2 separate regions of the Homo sapiens genome follow, and region 2 is linked to region 1. Evidence: promoter capture Hi-C in human tissues and cell types (Jung and others, 2019). All regions are on one chromosome and are shown on one strand. Each heading gives the region's core, a stretch centred on a gene start or on the middle of the fragment in contact. The rest is flanking DNA. Distances are from core to core; before and after follow the strand shown. Region 1 holds the start of SLCO4C1 (solute carrier organic anion transporter family member 4C1). Region 2 has its middle 350 kb from the start of SLCO4C1.

Region 1 (6,005 bases), core at 1,678-4,177:
TCCTCAGGAAGGATAGCACATTAATCCAATGACTCTTAAAGTGAATTCTATGCTATACAAGTTCCAAGAACACTACTTAAAAAAACAAAAACAAAAAAATCAGGAAACGCTCCATACTACATCTCTCTGTTGTAAATGAATGACAATAGGAAGCACATTAGAAAATTAAGTACTTAGAGAATCCCTGTTTGTCTTTGAGAAATGCTGGGTTAAATAAACTCATTCGAGAAATTTTGTTTTTCTTTCCAATTAAATGTATATTTAAATATACCATGGAAATGATCTTAAGGATCATGTTTGAGAAACATGGCAATAAAGTTTTCAGGCATTCAAACTTAAACTGAAACGTAAACTAGTAATTTATTGGGTCACACTTTTTATTATTATACTTTTTTTTGAGACCTTGCCTCGCTCTGTCACCAGGCTGGAGTGCAGTGGCGCCATCTCGGCTCACTGCAACCTCCACCTCCCGGGTTCCAGCCATTCTCGTGCCTCAGCCTCCTGAATAGCTGGGACTACAGGCGTGTGCCACCGCACCCGGCTAATTTTTGTGGTGTTTTGTTTTGTTTTGAGACAGAGTTTCCCTCTGTTGCCTAGGCCGGAGTGCAATGACACGATCTCGGTCCACTTCAAACTCCGCCTCCTGGGTTCAAGTGTTTTTCCCACCTCAGCCCTCCAAGTAGCTGGGATTGCAGGCATGCGCCACAATGCCCAACTAGTTTTTGTATTTTTGGTAGAGACGGGGTTTCACCGTGTTGGCCAGGCTGGTCTCGAACTCCTGACCTCAGTTGATCTGCCTGCCTCAGCCTCCCAAAGTGCTGCAATTACAGGCGTGAGCCACGGCGCCCGGCCATAATTTTTTGTATTTTTAGTAGAGACGGGTTTCACCATGTTGGCCAGGCTGGTATCCAAGTTCTGACCTCAACTGATCCGCCCGCCTCGGCCTCCCAAAGTGCTGGGATTACAGGCGTGAGCCACCATGCCCAGCCTATTGGGTCACTATTATCTCAGATTAAGCTTCTTAAATTGGGGACCTCTGGGTAGATGCTGCTCCAGACTAAACCTGACAAATTTTCTAGGAGTGACAATTACATTTGATAACAATTTTAGGCAATATTTTATATTAAATATAAAATGTTATATTTTGGAATAATATAGAAATTTCAGAGGAATTTTAAGATAATACACAAGATAAGACATTTTTTACTTGTGTCCAACTTTTTTATCTTCGCATTCCTTTGACACTGAGATGCTTCACAATTACCAATTTTGTAAAACTATGATCAAGACATTAATGGAGGGGAACTTTGGTAGGGACAAGAAAAGTGGACAGGGAAATAATTCTTCAACACAAATCTACCTTCAGTAGAAGAGCTGCAGCGGACTTGCAATCAATAAATGGTTACTTAGCATCTAATGCGCAAAGCAAGGGGCCCTGGGTTCCTTGAAGAGGAAGAATAAGAACAAAAAGTATACTTAGGCTTTGACTTAGTTTTCTATTAACTTAAAAAATGAGCTGTTTCCAACCCTCTAAAATCTATATTTCTAAGGTTGTATTTCTTCCAATTAATCCTTGACTGATTATACAGAAAATATTCTCGGACTATGACTCAAGTGACCAAAAAATATCTACATTCCAATTCAGCTAAGCTTCGGCATGTCCTTCTTGACTCCTCTCCACCTCTTCTCCACCCTTCCTCAAAGTCAACTCAGGTTAACTTCCTATTTTCCTTCAACCTCTGTATTGAACACACCAGAAGCAGCTTTAACCTTCCCTGTGCCTTCTTTCAAGGGAGCTGTTCTCCCTCCAGGATATCACTCCTCCAAACTGAGCTTAGATTGCAAGCCCCTGAGGGTATAAATCTGAACTGAATCTGTAACTCCCAAGAGAACCTAAAAGAGATCCTAGAACAAAACAGATGCTGGATAACTAATGTAACACAATGAAGATTAAGGCTCAACAACGTCGGGAGCCTTTGCTAATTTACTCACTGGGCTCCTCTGGTGACCACATACTCTCAAACTAAATACACTCACAAAACATGAATGTCTGTATCTAATTTATACGATAGATTTTTCATAGCTTTCTTCCTTGTAAGGCATCCCACTCCCACCTGCAAACGTATTACTCCTTCCCCTGAGGCAATGAAACAAATGTAAAAGTAAAATACCTTTAAAGAGTGCCTAGGTAAATTTTTGTCTTTATAATGTAAAATAAACTCCCCAGGGTATACCTTTCCCAAAGGAAGGTTCTTGTAATCTTCCCTGTAAGTCTTGAATCCGCTAAACTGAGGTAAAACACAAAAGAGAAAAAGGCTTGTATTGCAAGTTTGAACTGTAGTGATAAAGGAGAAGCTGAACTTTGGAAGGCTGGCTGGGGGCCGGTAGGTTGACCTTGGTGAGAGCGCAAGCAAGTTCCAAACCCGGGGCCACCTTGCAGGGCGCGTCCACCGTCCCACGGACCCCGCGCACCTGCCCTCTCCCCCGGCTGGCTCGCCGTGCCCACCTCGCTCTCCACTGGCCCGAGCCTCAAGCGGGCGCTGGACTTTACCTTGCGTGACGGCCAAGAGGCAGTAGTGAAGCAGAAAGCCTCCAGGTGTGTTGCAGCGCTGGAGACATTGAGGATGGAAGTTCCTCCAGCCGTAAGACCCCTCCTCAAACTCGGACAGCGACAGTGACCGGAGCTTCTCTTCGGAGACATTGGGAGGGGCTGAAGGCAGAGATGGCTCTGGTGACTTCTGGGGCTCCTGGGGCTTCTGAAGCTCCTGTGGCTGAGAATTCTCTCTTTGGGGGTCAGAGGACAAGGCAGAGACTTCGATTTGGGAGGGCGACGCAGACAAGCGGCGCAGGATGTCTGGGCTGGAGGGGACAAAAGCCAAGTTCTCAATACCTTTGGCGCTCTTCATGTCTGGATGGGTTCTCCCGACTCCGGTGCTTCAGAGCAGCAGAGCCAGGTCCCTCTCTGGCTCCTCCCACAGGCAGGTGACAGCGCCCCCGTGCGGGAAGCTTCCCGCCTCCTGGCCCTCCAGCCTCCAGCGCACTCTCCGCCACCGCCTGAACCTTCCTACTCCAGCTCGCAGCTGTCTGGAGCGCAGAGCGCTGAGCGGGGGCGTTAGCGCCCCAGCCTGTGGCTTTGGCGCTCAGCTGTGCCTCACCCGTCGCCTCAAGGACCAACCGGAAGGCGCGGCGTGGGCGTGCCACCCGGCGGCGGCCGAGTAGAGGGGGCGAGAGTTCTCACCCCACAGCCTTCGACCGGAGTCCGCCTCCGCCCAAGCCCCTGCGGTTCTGACCTGAGCCTTCAGCCCGCAGCGCGCCTCCCTTGAGCCCAAGCACTGGGAACACACAGAGACTGTGGGAGTCTCTGGCCATAAGCTCCCCTTGGGTGCTGACATGAAACCTGTAAACAGTTGCATCAGGAGATTGTTCAGGAAACTATCTTGCGTTTTCTTCCTTTGCTGCTTACCAAAGCAGTCTAGGCTTGGACTCCAAGAATCAAGACGTCAGAGGTATACTTTGGTTCATGAGCATCTTGATAAGACTCTTGCCTGTCATCCTGTTACTGGTAGAAGGTGTCCAGGTTCTTGGCATCTTGAAGAAAGAATTGAAGAAAACGCACAAACAAAGCAAGGAAGGAATGAAGGGGTTTATTGAAAATGAAAGTACACTCCACAGTGTGGGAACGGGCGAGCATAGGGGCTCAAAGGCCCGGTTACAGAATTTTGGGGAGTTTAAATACCCCCTAGAGGATTCCATTGGTTACTTTGGGTATGCCCTATGTAAAGGGAGAAGATGAAGTAAAGTTACAAAGTCATTTATGGCCTACGCCCTATGGAGAGGATATTTCCTGTTACAGCTGAAGTGTGAATAGGCCTTATGTTTCCTGCCTCCAGACCCTATTTTCCTGCCTCAGTCCTCCTTAGAAAAAGAAATCCACCCCACCCCACCCCCATCACCACCAGGATGAACATCACAGCATAACCACTGCTTTGCTTTTCCTTCTCCGAAACTGAAGGACCAGAAATTGTCTCTCTGCTGTATATTGCATATGTAAGATATACAGTGATGACAATCATGTAAATAATTTCTACCGGGCCAGGCGCGGTGGCTCACGCCTGTAATCCTAGCACTTTGGGAGGCTGAGGCGGGTGGATTACCTGAGGTCAGGAGTTCAAGATTAGCCTGGCCAACATGGTGAAACACTGTCTTTACTAAAAATACAAAAATTAGCCAGGTGTGGTGGTGCAGGCCTGTAATCCCAGCTACTTGGGAGGCTGAGGCAGGAGAATCATTTGAACTCGGAAGGTGGAGGGTACAGTGAACCGAGATTGTGCCACTTCAATCCAGTCTGGGTGAAAGAGTGAAACTCTGTCTCTTAATAATAATAATAATAATAATAATACATGTCTAACTGTGGAATAAATAAGAAAAACACTTCGAAGAGCTTAACACCATTGTGTCATGGTAGGTACAATTTAGTCATTCATTCTTTCACTTAACACAGACACAAAAAATTCTTGTGTCCTAGGTGCCAAACATTGTTCTAAGTTCTGGGGGTACACAAGTGAACAAAGACTGGCAAATACCCCTACCCTTATGGTGCTTATGTTTTAATAGGAAACAGACAGTAATAATACATAGTACATGGCACATAATATGATAAATACTATTTTGTGAAACTTTTGTTTCAATTATATATGCTGTGTTTACTGGGTTGAGAGACAGATATAAAATATGTATCTTACTTTGGACAGAGGTACATTCTGTTACCTGTTTCCTCACAATCGAGAAAACTCTAGACTGGCCAGCCGGGCGCAGAGGTGCAGGCCTGTAATCCCAGTACTTTGGGAGGCCAAGGTGGGTGCCTTGAGTCCAGGAGTTTGAGACCAGCCTGGGCAACACGACAAAACCCTGTCTCTACCAAAAATGCAAAACTTAGCCTGGCATGGTGGTGCACGCCTGTAGTTCCAGATACTTGGGAGGCTGAGGTGGGAGGGTCGCTTACAACCTGGGAGGGTGAGGTTGCAATGAGTACTCCAGCTGTGCCATAGAGCCAGACCTTGTCTCAAAAAAATAAGAATTAAAAATAAAAATAAATTCTAGATTGGCCTAAAACATGGGGAAAGAGTAGAAGTAGGAGCTAACATTTAAAATGTCTGCTATATGCCCCATTATTAAAATCTTTACAAAAGCAGCTGCACTGTTATATATAGTTTACATATTGAGGAAACCATATCCCATAAAGAATTAGTAACTGTCCCAAAGTCACATAGCTAATAAGTGAACTGCCACTTAAGGATCTGAACTCGGCTCTCTTAGCCAGAAGTCTTCCCTAAACTTTGCATTTTCTGTCTTTTAATAACTACAGTGTATCTCCATCAGGTTAAATTATTGCATAGCAATTTTAAGAGATCAAAATTCAAAATTCTGTGATATTCGTGAGGCTTAGAAGATTAATGCTGCTCTGAAAACCTAGATTTTGGAGGTATTCAAATTAAGCATGGTATGTAATCTTCCTGGGCTTGCTTTCTACAAAAATGGACTCAAAGTAGGTAACTATTTTGATCACCATTTTATCTATGGAATACGAAGTAATTTACACAACCAGAAAATTTTGTTTTGATGGGATGTGATTACATACAATCATGGCTTAAGACTATTTTGCAGCTGTGACTTAATAAATCCATGCTATACTATCAAAATCAGAGTAGCATAATCATCGTGCACTTAAATTCATACTAAGGAGAAATCTCCACTCTCACAGTGTTAGAGAGAGAATTTTGGTTAAAGATTAGCAAAATTACTATTGCTTCATCTTAAATACATCTTGCTCTTACTGAAAGTTTCAATTTCCTGTTCCCTTACATTCTTTATGCTGCAGTGATGGAAGGGGCTTCGGTTTGCAACAAAAACCAAAAAACAAAAATAGGAAAGAAAAATTGTTAGTTTTCATCCCTGATAATTCTATGGAAAAACGTCCATTTTAAAATTAATTGTTTGGTCAATCT
Region 2 (6,005 bases), core at 2,111-4,610, 350 kb before region 1:
AATCTATGAGCATGGACTGTTTTTTTTCCAGTTATTTGTGTCATCTCTGACTTCTTTCAACAGCGTTTTGTGCTTCTCCTCGTAGAGATATTTTACCTCTTTGGTTAGCTGTATTCCCAGGTATTTCATGTTCTTTGTGGGTCTTGTGAGTGGGATTGTGTTCTTGATTTCACTTTCAGCCTAGATGGTGTTGTTGTACAGATATGCTACTGTTTGTGTACATTGATTTTGTATCCCAAAACCTTACTAAGACTGTTTATCCATTCTAGAGCCTTTTGTCAGAGCTTTTAGGATTTTCTGGGTACAAAATCATAACATTAGTGAAGAGAGATAGTTTGACTCCTTCTTTTCCTACTTGAATGCCTTTTATTTCTTTCCCTTGCTTGATTGCTCTGGCTAGGACTTCCAGTACTATGTTGAATAGGAGTGATGGGAATGGACATCCTTGCCTTGTTCCAGGCCTCAAGGGAAATAGTTCAAACTTTTGCCCACTCAGTGTAATGTTGGCTGTGGGTTTGTGATAGATGGCTGTTATTATTTTGAGGGATCTTCTTTTAATGCCTAGTCTGTTGAGAGTTTCTACTTCGAAGGGATGTTGTTTCTTATTTAATGCTTTCTCTACATCTACGAAGATGATCATATGGTTTTTGCTTTTGATTTTGTATACGTGGTAAATCACATTTATTGGTTTGTGTACATTGAACCAGCTTTATATCTCAGAAATAAAACCTACTTGGTCATAGTGTATATTAACTTTAAAAAAAAAACTTTTATTTTAGGTTCAGAAGTACATGTGAAGGTTTTTAACATCATAGGTGAACTCGTGTCACAGGGATTTGTTGTGCAGATTATTTCATCACCCACGTATTAGGCCCAGTACCCAATAATTATCTTTTCTTTTCATCATTTAGCTCTCACTTATAAATGAGAACATGTTGTATTTGATTTTCTGTCTCTACGTTAGTTTGCTAAGGATAATAGCCTCTAGCTCCATTCATGTTCCCAAAAAAGACATGTATTAAGTTTTTTTATGTGCTGCTGGATTCAATTTGCTAGTATTTTGTTGAGGACCTTTATGTGTATGTTTGTGAGGGATATTGGTCTGAAGTTTCCTTTTTTCGTTGTGTCTTTGTCAGATTTTGATATCAGGCTGATGGTGGCTTCATAGAATGTGTTAGGGAGGAGCCCCTCCTCCTCAATTTTTTGGAATAGTTTTAATATTGTTGGTATATTGGCATTTCTTTGTGTGTCTGGTAGAATTTGGCTGTGAATTTATCTGGTCGGGGCTTTTTTTTTTGAGGGGGTGCTCCTTATTACTGTTTCAATTTCAGAAGTTGATATTGGTCTATTCAGGGTTTCAATCTGTACCTCATTTAATCTTGGAAGATAGTGTACTTCCAGGAATTTGTCCATTTCCTCTAGATTTTCTAATTTGTGTGCATACAGTTGTTCATAGTAGTCTCTGATATCTTTTGTATGTTGTAATATCACCTTTGTCATTTCTGATTGTCCTTATTTCGATCTTCTCTTTCTGTTTTATTTTGGTTAGTTTAGCTAGGGGCCCATCAGTCTTATTTATTTTTTTCAAAAAAACCATCTGCATTTCATTGATCTTTTGTATGGAATTTGCATTTCAATTTCAACAAGTTATTCTCTAATTTTAGTTATCTATTTTCTTCTGCTAGTTTTGGGTTTGGTTTGTTATTTTTTATTCCAGTTCCTTTAGGTGTAACAATAGATTGTTAACTTGAGACTTTCTAATTTCTTGATGAAGGAGTTACGAGCTATAAACTTTCCTTGTAACACTGCTTTTGCTGCATCCCAGAGATTTTGGTAAGTTGTGTACCTATTTACATTAATTTCAAGTTTTAAAAAATGTTTGCCTTAATTATGTTTACCCAGGAGTTATTCAGGAGTAAGTTGTTTAATTTCCATGTATTTGTATCATTTTGAGAGATACTCTTGGTATTGATTTCTATTTTTTATTGCACTGTGGTCCAAGAGTGTGTTTGGTTTGGTATGATTTTAATTTTTTTGGATTTATCAAGGCTTGCTTCACCACCAAGCATGTGGTTGATCTTAGAATATGTTCCATGTGCAGATGAGAGGAATGTATATTCTGTAGTTGTAGGGTAAAGTATTCTGTAGGTGTCATTAGGTACAGTTGGTCAAGTGTCAAGTTGAAGTCCAGAGTTTCTTTGTGAGTTTTTTGCCTCCGAGATCTGTCTAACACTGTCAGTGGGGTGTTAATGTCTCCCACTATTATTCTGTGATTGTCTAAGTCTTTTTGTTGGCCAGGAACCCATTTTATGAATCTGGGTGCTCCAATGTTGGGGGTGTATATATTTAGAATAGTTAAGGCTTCTTGTTGGATTGTACCCTTTATCGTTATGTAATGCCCTTCATTGTCCTTCTTAATTTTGATTGGTTTAAAGTTTGTTTTATCTGATACAGGAATAGACTCCTGCTCTTTTTGGTTTTCCATTTGCATGCTACATATTAGTCCACTCTTTTATTTAGCCCTTGGATATCATTATATGCGAGGTGGGTCTCTTAGAGACAACAGATGTTTGCGTCTTGTCTTTGTATCCAGTCTGACACTGTGTCTTTTAAGTTAGACATTTAGACTATTTATACTCAAGGTTAGCATTGATATGTGTGATTTTTATCCTGTCATAGTGTTGCTAGCTGGTTGTTATGTAGACTTGATGCGTAGTTGCATTTTATAGTGCCTGTGGGCCGTATGCTTAGATGTGCTTTTGTGATAGCAAGTGTCCTTCTTTAGAATCCATATTTAACAGTCCCTTAAAAACTTCTTGTAAGACTGGTCTAGTTGAAACATATTCCCGCAATATTTGCCTGTCTGAAAAGGATTTTATTTCTCCCTCACTTATGAAACTTAGTAAGGCAGAATATTAAATTCTTGGTTGGGTTTTCTTTTCTTAAAGGACACCGAAAATAGGCCCTCAATGTCTTCTGGCTGATAAAAGTTTCTGCTGAGAGGTCTTCTGCTAGCCTGATGGGGTTCCTTCTTTAGGTTACCTGAACCTTCCTCTCTAGCTACTTTTAAGATATTTTCTTTTTCACTGGCCTTAGTGAATCTGATGACTATGTGTCTTGGGGATGGTTGCCTTGTATAGTATCTGGCTGGAGTTCTCTGTATTTCTTAGATTTTCATGTCAACCTCTCTAGCAAGATTAAGGAAATTGCTGTGGAATATATCCTCAAATATAATGCTCAAGTTGCTTATTCTCCCTTCTTCTCTCTCAGGAATGCCACTGAGTCACAGGTTTGTCTCTTTACATGATCCTGTATTTCTCAGAGGTTTTGCTCATTTTTCTTAATTCTTCTGTCTCTATTTTTGTCTGATTTAGTTGATTTGAAGCATTAGCCTGAAGACTCTTTCCTCAGCTTGGCTATGCTGCAGTTAATACTTTCAAATGTATTATGAAATTATCATACTGAATTTTTCAGCTCAAGAAGCTCAGTTTGGATTTTTCTTAAAATGGGAGTTTCATCTTTCAGCTCTTGAATAGTTTTACTGTATTGTTTCACTATGTTAGATTGTTTCAAGTTTCTTCTTGATTTCAATGAGCTTCCTTGCCATCCAGATTCAGAGTTCCATGTCTGTTATTTCAGACAATTCAGACAAGTTAAGAACCATCACTGGGGAGCTAGTGGGCTCATTTGGAGGTAAGGGAACACTCTGGCTTTTTGAATTGCCAGAGTTATTTCACTGATCCTTTCCCACCTGGCAGGGCTGGTATTTCCTTAGTTGTGGTGTAAACTGAGAATTGCCTATTGCCTTCATTTTTGGAATTTCAGAAGACTAATGCTTTGTACAGATTCTTTGTTGTAGCGTTCTTGCTGTTTCCAATGAGAGAGAATTTTTGATGTAGTTTGGGCTGCGATCCAATAGATGGCACTTGAGAGCCATAGGCAGTTCCTAGCCACACAGTTCCTTTGTATATCTTCACATTTGCAGTTGTGTTCTGCAGTGCGATGGGGATAGAGGTGACACCCTCACCAGATCTGCTCAAAGGCCCCCGGGGAGCTACCCCTGATCACCAGCAATCTTCTCATGATTTTCTTTCCTGTTGCTGTTAGGTCTTTCAGGCCACAGGGCTCCCTTGGGGAGAAGTCCCTTAGAGAATCAGGCCACACCCCAACCGAGTGGAAGGAGGCACAGCCAGGTCCCACATCAGCCCATCAAACTGTGCAACCCAGCTCTTCCAGTTTTCTGAGAGTGTGACTCCTGCCCCTTTCAAATGCAGAGCACAGCTCGCAGCTCAGTACTTCTGAGCCACAGGCCATAGCTCTAAGGTACTAGGACCCTCTCACAGCTCCCTCCTCCGGTCGCTTGGAGTTGGGTTTTGGGTGCAGCCTGACATCTAAAGGACATCTACGTTGCTGGAAAGTATGTAGGTGGAGCAAAGCAACTGAGCTGGGAAGCAGAGGCTGCATTATATACACACTTGTATGGAGTAGCCAGGCAGTGGCCCTAGGAGAGGCTGGCGGATAGGTGGGCCTGCAGGAAAGATAAGTCCCAGTCCCAGGGAGAAACTGGCCTGGCTTTCCCCATAGCCATAAGCTGGGGCCACAGCCTCTCAAAGGTAGATGGGCAGCCCTAGGGGATGGGTGCTTACAGCTGAGCTTTGCCAGAGCTGATCCACTCAAAGGTCCCCAGCTTTGTGCTTGCTGCAGCTCCATCTCCATCTAATCTCCAGGGAGAATCCCCTGCCGGCTCACACATTCATGGGCTGTGGGGTCACTGCAGCTAGGATTCCAAAGGTTTGCAGCAAGAGTGAACAGTCCCCCAGTCCCTTCACTCATCCATACCCAGGCATCTTTTGGAGCAGTGAACCAGACGTAGCATTTAGATAACCACATAGGGTTCCTAGTCTCCTCTCTCATCAGCATCAGTGACTGTGTCTTCACCATCCACATTTGGCATTTTCTCCCCAAAGGTCTGTACAAATTATGTTGGTATGGCCAAAATCCTGGTTTCTCTCTGTGAGAGTGGCGCTTCCCAGTTGCATCTAGTTACTTATCTTAAACACATAACCACATTTTCTTTATCCAGTTGACCATTGATGTACACTTGGGTTAATTCCATGTCTTTACTATTATGAATAGTACTGAGATAAACATATAAGTAAAGGTATCTTTTTTATGGAAAATTTATTTCCTTTGGGGTATGTAATCAGTAATAGGGTTGTTCAGTCAAATGATAATTCTATTTTTAGCTCTTCGAGAAATCTTCTGATATAGTTTGGATATGTATCCTCTCCAAATCTCATGTTGAAACGTGATCCTCAATTTTGGAGGTGGGGCCTACTGAGAGATATTTGGGTAATGAGGTTGGATCCCTCAGGAACAGCTTGGAGCCCTCCTGGAGGTAATGAGTGAGTTCTTGCTGAGTTCAAAGGAGATCTGGTTGTTTAAAAGAGTGTAACACTTCCCCATCAATCTTGCTTCCTCCTTTGCCATGTAACATGCTGACTCATTTCCCCTTCCCCTTATGCTATGATTGTAAGCTCCCTGAGGCAGATGCCAGCACCAAGCTTCCTTTACAGTCTACAGAACCATGAGCCAAAATAAAACTCTTTTCTTTACAAATTGCCTAGTCTCAGGTATTCTTTTATAGCAGGGGTCCCCAACCCCTGGGCCATAGACCAGTACAGATTTGTGGCCTGTTAGGGACCCTGCCACAGAGCAGGAGGTGAGTAACCAGCAAGCATTACCCCTGAGCTCCGCCTCCTGTCAGATCAGGGGCAGCCTTAGATTCTCATAGGACTGTGAACTCTACTGTGAGCTACACATGCAAAGTATCTAGGTTATGTTCTTTATGACAGTCTAACTAATGCCTGATGATCTGAGGTGGAACAGTTTCATCCCAAAACTATCTCCGCAACTCTGCCCTGTTCATGGAAAAATTGTGCCAAAAAGGTTAGGGACCACTGCTTTATAGCATCTCCAAATGGCTTCACACAGAGGCTGAAATA

Evidence for each region. Contacts are between HindIII fragments. The study calls those that stand out against the background at their distance.
Region 2: a contact is called between a fragment that was not itself captured here and the fragment with the promoter of SLCO4C1 in region 1, in 1 of the 25 tissues and cell types used here (dorsolateral prefrontal cortex).

The regions. Positions count from the first base shown.
Region 1 is chr5:102,293,357-102,299,361 of GRCh38, forward strand. It overlaps SLCO4C1 (solute carrier organic anion transporter family member 4C1), which reads right to left and starts at 2,928. Exons shown (of 13, transcript NM_180991.5): 1 at 2,552-2,928. The coding sequence starts at 2,906. RefSeq lists an enhancer at 2,694-2,893. The HindIII fragment of the contact is 20,431 bases long and covers 2,329-6,005 here.
Region 2 is chr5:101,938,491-101,944,495 of GRCh38, forward strand. No RefSeq gene overlaps it. Among named protein-coding and RNA genes, the nearest start is that of SLCO4C1, 350 kb to the right of the region's middle. The HindIII fragment of the contact is 5,198 bases long and covers 762-5,959 here.